Linked DNA regions of Homo sapiens: region 2 is linked to region 1. Evidence: promoter capture Hi-C in 16 types of primary human blood cells and fetal thymus (Javierre and others, 2016). All regions are on one chromosome and are shown on one strand. The core of a region is centred on a gene start or on the middle of the fragment in contact, and the rest is flanking DNA. Distances in the headings are between cores, read along the strand shown. Region 1 holds the start of HRG (histidine rich glycoprotein). Region 2 has its middle 27 kb from the start of RTP1.

The links. Contacts are between HindIII fragments. The CHiCAGO score rates a contact against its expected background, and 5 or more counts as called.
Region 2: a fragment that was not itself captured here is called in contact with the fragment with the promoter of HRG in region 1 in 1 of 17 cell types (naive B cells); the score reaches 5.0 in naive B cells.

Annotation. Positions count from the first base shown.
Region 1 is chr3:186,664,092-186,667,613 of GRCh38, reverse strand. HRG (histidine rich glycoprotein) reads right to left here and starts at 1,600. Exons shown (of 7, transcript NM_000412.5): 1 at 1,400-1,600. The coding sequence starts at 1,582. It overlaps HRG-AS1 (HRG and FETUB antisense RNA 1), which reads left to right and starts at 1,980. Exons shown (of 3, transcript NR_187317.1): 1 at 1,980-2,035. The HindIII fragment of the contact is 4,199 bases long and covers 1-3,522 here.
Region 2 is chr3:187,168,214-187,171,954 of GRCh38, reverse strand. No RefSeq gene overlaps it. Among named protein-coding and RNA genes, the nearest start is that of RTP1, 27 kb to the left of the region's middle. RefSeq lists an enhancer at 611-1,112. The HindIII fragment of the contact is 1,735 bases long and covers 465-2,199 here.

The DNA of each region.
Region 1 (3,522 bases), core at 351-2,850:
GCCTCCTCCCATCCAGTCTTACTAGATCTCCCCTCATTAAATTGCTCCAGTACATTTACCACTCCTTTGGTCACTTGGCTATTGTTGGGGCTCAGAACATGGTATCTCAAAGTATGGTACTTTTGGCGTGCTGAGTCCTTTGAACTGAAGAAAATGGGAAGGGCCTCAGAAGCCAGATCTGTCTGACCTTCTGCCCTTTGTTCTCCTACTCTGCTTTCTCCCCCAAGGCAAGCCATAGAAACTAAAATTTCTCTTCTCCAGGACAGTCACAGATGGTAGAATCCCTCTCCCCGAAAGCATCCATAAATCCTAAAATATGAATCTAACCTTCCCCCTGTGTCTTTCTTTGTAGGAGCTGGCCATAAAGACATTCTCTGACCTACTCTGTTTGATAGTAGGTCCTCAGATCCGCATTCCAAAGGGATCCTGTCCCATACTTGGGAGCAAGAAATGCCACACAGAGAGGCCATGAAGAACTCAAACAGAGAGGCCTTGCTGGGTCCTTCTTTCAGTCTATGACTCTTAGATTACAGCCTTTTGTCCCATCACACTTCTGCATTCTGCACAGCCTTTGTGAATTCTAAGTATGCAAGTGGCCAGTTTCTTTGGATATCTGAGTCTTCATTTATGAAGACTCCAGTGTCAGGTAAACCTTGGATTAAATAAATTTGTATGTTTTCTTCTTCTTCTTTTTTTTTTTTGAGATGGAGTCTAGCTTTGTTGCCCAGGCTGGAGTGCAGTGGCATGATCTCGACTCACTGCAACCTCTGCCTCCCGAGTTCAAGCGATTCTTCTGCCTCAACCCCCTGAGTAGCTGGGATTACAGGCGTGCACCACCATGCCCAGCTAGTTTTTGTATTTTTAGTAGAGACAGGGTTTCACCATGTTGGCCAGGCTGGTCTTGAACTCCTGACCTCATGATCCGTCCGCCTTGGCCTCCCAAAGTGCTGGGATTACAGGCGTGAGCCACCGCGCCTGGCCTTGTCTACCAGTTTTATTTCAGGCTCAGTTAGGAGCCTTAGGAGGGTTGAGAAAACTTTTCCTTCTCTCTAGTTTATCCTAGTAACTTACACTGTTTGCCTGTATGTGCCAGTGTATTATTATTTCCTGGAGGCCAAGGCCCATAGCTTATTCTAATGTTTCTCTGGCAGTCCTTAGCATGTAACTGGGCTCAGCATAAATGCTTATATGTACCCACAAATCGAATCATAGTTGCGGGTACACTAATAACAAATATTAGTTTGAAGGAAAAAAGAACAATTTAGAGCAGCCGCAGAAGCCAAACAAAAAACTCTGACCAAAGCCATTCATTGTGCAAAGCAGTAAGCCTAGGGGGTAGAGTCACATTTGCCCCCGTGAGTAATCTCCCAACTCAGCTCTGCCATTGGCAATTCCTCACCACTCTGTCCAAGTGGGCATCAGCAATCCGCAGCAATTGGAAAAGGTAGCCATCCCGTCGCCTTTTATTGATCAGGTCTAGAGCTTTCTCAGCCTCCGGCTCAACAGCACTGCAGTCAGTGGGACTCACGGCACACGAATACTGCAATGTGATCAAAAGCAGTGCTGCAATGAGTGCCTTCATTTTGTTAAACCATCCCTTGCTATGATCTGCCACTGCAGAGAATTTTATACAGACTTTCTGAAACACACGCAATTGATTAAACAAAACCTTGATACATTTTTGTTGTGTAACTGAGGGTGTTCACCTTGACCCTGGGTTCAAATAACCATCAACAAGCTGTAAATGATTAGTGGGTCCTGGGGGCAGAAAGCTGAGAAATGCTGATGAGTGGGTGGAACTGTGATCTGCACAAATCTGGATTTTTCTAGTAGATAGCAGATCTAAAGTACGTCTTTGAATATAAGCAGTGCCTATGTTGGTGTAGGGGGTGGGGCTAGGGGTAATTTTCCTCCATCTGCCTGCCTGTCTCAGCTGGAAATCTCCATCATCAGTCAGTGGACTGATGGATCATGGCACTAAAACTCCTCAGTAGAAGGCAGCTGCATTATCTAAGCGGGGGAACATGTTAAACAGGTACCATTATAAAAGGAATGACTTCAGGTAAAATAGAACAATGAAGAGGCTGTCGTTTTGAAGTCAAATCTGAATTTCTCACCTGGCTCTATTACTTTCTTACTGTGTAATGCTGGGTAAGCAACAAAACTTCTCTGATAGTTCCCTCATTTACGAAATATGGATTGATACCTCTTGGCAGGCTTGTGTGATAATTAAATAAGAAATCAGGCTGGGTGCGGTGGCTCATGCCTGTAATCCCAGCACTTTGGGAGGCCAAGGCAGGCTGATCACAAGGTCAGGAGATTGAGACCAGCCTGGCCAACATGGTGAAACCCTGTCTCTACTAAAAATACAAAAAATTAGCTGGGCATGGTGGCACATGCCTGTAATCGCCGCTACTTGGGAGGCTGAGGCAGGAGAATCACTTGAACCCGGGAGGCGGAGATTGCAGTGAGCTGAGATCGCGCCACTGCACTCCAGCTCGGGCGACAGTGTGAGATTCCATCTAAAAAAGAAAGAAAGAAAAAAAGAAAGCAACCAGTATAATTCTTGGCATAGAGTAGATGCTGAATAAGTGATGCTATTTATTATTAGTGTGCCTGCAAAGAAGTTGGGGACACCTCATGCCACCCCAATTCCCTGCAAAAAGAATTGATTCACGTGGAAGAGGATGGTGGTGAGAGTAAGAGTCAAATAGTTGGATGCCCATCCCACTGTTAGAAGGGATCAGCAGGGGGGGACTGGGCTATGATACAGCTGACCCCCTACCTTCACACTTCAGAAGAAACCCGTATACCTATATGCAACCCTCAGACCAGCAGAGCCAGCAGCATCAGAAGGGACCAGAGGGAATCAGCCTAGGTTCCGTCCTCACTGCCAAGAAACAGCCAGTTAGGCAGCATCTCCATTCCTCCCTGTTCTATCCGCAGTGAGTGTCTGTGAGAGTCTGCAGTCATGTCTCTCAGACTCGGCTTCATGTTAGAATCACCCCAGGAGCTTTAAAAAGTCCTGATGTCAAGGACTCCTCCAGGACAATTTAATCAGAATCTCTGGGAGTGGACTTTGGTATTGGTAGTTTTTAAACTCCTAGGTAATCCAGTGTGTGCAGTCAAGGTTGAGAATTACTGGGATTCTAGAGTGAACTGAAGAGAGGGAAAGGATTTGAAGACAGAAAGAAAAGGGAGGTGTATGAAAAGTAGATCTCATTTCCACAAGTCACAGGGTTAATGAGTGCAACAGGTTTTGAATAATGTTTGCAATTGAACTTTTAATGTCAGTAACCCTGGCTTTTAAATACCCAATGGGACCAGTCCAGTGCAACAGAAAATGACAGGAATGTATGGAATCTGGTCAAGGTGTTAAGAGGCTCCAACCCAGTGGGGAAGGGGAAAGCTATTGATTAAAACAAAAACTATTTTGAGTTTTTGTTATTATGAGTTGAGCTCCTTAATGAAGTTTTTCTATTATGGCTATATTGGCTGCACCCTAAATGGGGTGTCCTGGGT
Region 2 (3,741 bases), core at 83-2,582, 500 kb before region 1:
GGAGTAATTACAGTGTTATTATTTTTATTTTAATAGGGTAAGTAACACATTGTATTAGTGCTTCTATTAATGTTACTGGGAACCAAGATTTTTATGGTAATCAAAAAGAGATTGGAAATACATAAAATCTAAGATGGTAAATAAAAATTCCTATTATCTGAATTTGAATTGGAAATATAAGTATTATATCATAATGAAATTGTATTGCCCATAAAAATTATGAACTTCCTAACTTTGTCTATTACACAGACCTGAAAGAAATAAATCATCAATCCATTAGCAACAAGTACCTCTCAGCACCTGGATCACCAAAAGTGATCAGAACTTTCTGGAAAAATAATTCCTTCAGATATAAGTCAATAAATGTATAAAATGAGCCTGGAATATTTTCTTGTACCAGATTTCAAAAATTCCTATTGTCATGTCAAAAGACAAAAGGCAAATGAAACTAACCTGAAGAAGCTTTCACTGGCCAAAAACAAAATAATTGGATCATCAAAAAGAATAATGGCCACAATTCATTGAAGTACATCAAATATGCTAAAAATCCATAAATTAATAATGATATTTTAAATAAAAAAAACCAACTATTTATTTCAAAAATAGGCAAGGGAAAAATATTACATATTTATCTTGGCTTCCTTATGTAATCTGCATTTTGTGATAACCAAATAATAGTTGAGGGGAAGCTATTCTTTAGAGAAGAATTACAATTAATAAAAGAAAAGGGGCCGAGGCGCAGTGGTTCACACCTGTAATCTCAGCACTTTGGGAGGCCAAGTAGGGAGATCACTTGAGGTCAGGAGTTTGAGACCAGCCTGTCCAATGTGGTGAAACCCCATCTCTACTAAAAATACAAAAAAATCAGCTGGGCCTGGTGGAGCACACTGGTAATCCCAGCTACTCGCGAAGCTGAGGCATGAGAATTACTTGAACCCAGGTGGTGGGGGTTGCAGTGAGCTGAGATTGCGCCACTGAACTCCAGCCTGGGTGACAGAGCAAGACTCTATCTCAAAAAGTAAATAAATAAAAAATAAAAGGGAACAATAGGATCAGAATATCACTATTTTGCAGTCCTAATGAAATAATGATAAAGAAAAAAATCTAAATCTGCTAAACTCATTAATTAAGATGTTGTGGGGAACTTTATAGTGGATGGGTCAGGCTGACACCATCTGATCTTACTGATCAATTAAGAAAAGAAAGGCAATCAGACATCACGTGTCTCCTAATATAACGCTGCAGGAACAGTCCAACACTAGCACTGAAATAGTCACATTAAAAAATCCAAATCTGGCTGGGTGCGGTGGCTCACGCCTATAATCCCAGCACTTTGAGAAGCCAAAGTGGGTGTATCACGAGGTCAGAAGTTCGAGAACAGCCTGACCAACATGATGAAACCCTGTCTCTACTAAAAATACAAAATTTAGCTGGGCATGGTGGCGCGTGCCTGTAATCCCAGCTACTCAGGAGCCTGAGGCAGGAGAATCGCTTGAACCCGGGAGGCAGAGGTTGCAGTGAGCCTAGATCGTGCCACTGCACTCCAGCCTGGGTGACAGAGTGAGACTTCCAAAAAAAAAAAAAAAAAAAACATACCTGATCAGGCCTGTAGATAGTCTAGAGGAAATACGAAGTATGAGGAAACGTCTCAGACAAAAACCACAAGAATGTATCACCAAAGTCCAAAATGTGAGCAATTCTACAAGATACATGATTTTTTTTCCAAATAAATAAATGGTAAAGAAGAAGAGGGGGAAGGAGGACTGCTATAAAGTTAAAAAGAATTGAGACGCACAACCCGATGTGATATGTGAACTTTCTGACTGAATCAAATCAACTATAAAAAGGCATGTTTGAGATAACACAGACAACTTAATTATGTACTAAATTAGATGATTTTAAGGAATTCTTTTTGAAGAATTATGAGGAATTATGAAGAATGATTATGAAGAATTTCAAGGAGTTGCATTTGGAAATTTGAAATTTAAAAAAAATTTTAATAGTAAAAACAAAAGCAGAAGGTAAAAGGGAATAAAACTGTAAATAAGATGGATCCAGGACTGGATTTGGGGCATAGATGTATACATGTGTTATAGGAGTACCACAAAACAAGCTCTATGTTTGCAGCTACCAATGTGAGAAGGGAGAGAAAAATAGTGAGAAAGTGCTCAGTACCTACTCAGCAAAAACAAACAAGCTTTTCAGGTAGAGCATCATTCTACTGCTAAGTCCTGAGCAAATCCTCTGCCCTGGATCATCACTTAAAACAAATCCAGGACAGCTTCCCTTTTTAATTTGATTGGCCAAATATTTAAATCCTTTACTCCATACCCCAACCACCTGAACTATATAAGACCAAAAGACCCCTCATCATTTAAGAAACATTTGTTGAACTCTACTATATTTCAGTATGTGTGGTAAGAGTAAAGTATTTATTTACAAAGAAGGCAGACTCTGCTGTCAGTGAACTTAGAGTCTATAGTGATTTGCTGGCATTCATACAACCATCACATCATGCCAAGATAGATAGGTCATGAGAGCGAATAACAAAGATCTCTGGAAGCGGAAGGATTCCTCTTCAAATTCTCAGGACAAGTTAAGGTTTCTTACAGAAACACCATAACTGTGTGTTGTTAGCACAAGATGGGTTTTGCTGGGGGTGACATTCCACATAAACCAAAGGCAGAGGTGGTCTGCACATCCTTCTGGGGTGCTTAGTACATGAGCTCCCCCCTTATCCAAGGTTTTGCTATCCATGGTTTCAGTTACTCATGGTCAACCATGGTTTGAAAATAGGTGAACACAGAGCAATAAGATATTTTGAGAAAGAGAGACCACATTTACATAATTTTTATTACAGTATATCTAATCATTGTTCTATTTTATTATTGTTAATTTCTTACTGTGTGTAAGTTTTGTTTGTTTGTTTGTTTGTTTCATTTTTTGAGATGGAGTCTTGCTCTGTCACCCAGGCTGGAGTGCAGTGGCGCGATCTCGGCTCACTGAAACCTCCACCTCCCAGGTTCAAGCGATTCTCCTGCCTCAGCCTCCTGAGTAGAACTACAGGCATGCACCACCACACCCAGCTAATTTTTGTATTTTTAGTAGAGATGGGGTTTCACCGTGTTGGTCAGGATGGTATCAATCACTTGACCTTGTGATCTGCCCACCTTGGCTTCCCAAAGTGCTGGGATTACAGGCGTAAGCCACCACACTCTGCCCACTCTGTGTAATTTATAAATTATCATATATCATATAATTTATCATAGGTATGTGTGTATAGGAAAAAACGTAGTATATTTAGGTTTCAGTACTATCTGCAGTTTCATGTATCCACTGAGGATCTTGGAATGTATCTCCCATGTATAAGGGGGGACCACAGTACAGAGACAAGCATTAAATTGGTATTTACAATTGACCATCAATCAGAAAAATTATACAAAAATTTCGATAGGCTCCCACAGTGGTAGAGATGTTTATAGGGTTCGAGGACCTTTAATGACTATTCTTCTCCTTCAAGTAAAACTGATAAGTTATTAGTTAGTAAGACAGTAGCAGCGGCTTTAGTTCATTTGGTAGTATTTGTCCAGCTCTTGAGGTGAATGTGGTCTCTGTGATGACTTTTAGAAATGTCAGATTTCTAGTAAGTCAAGTCTATATAGATTATTTTGTTTATGCATACATATATAACATGTGAGTTATTTGATTAAATGCATATATGCCTAAAAAGGTATATCCACA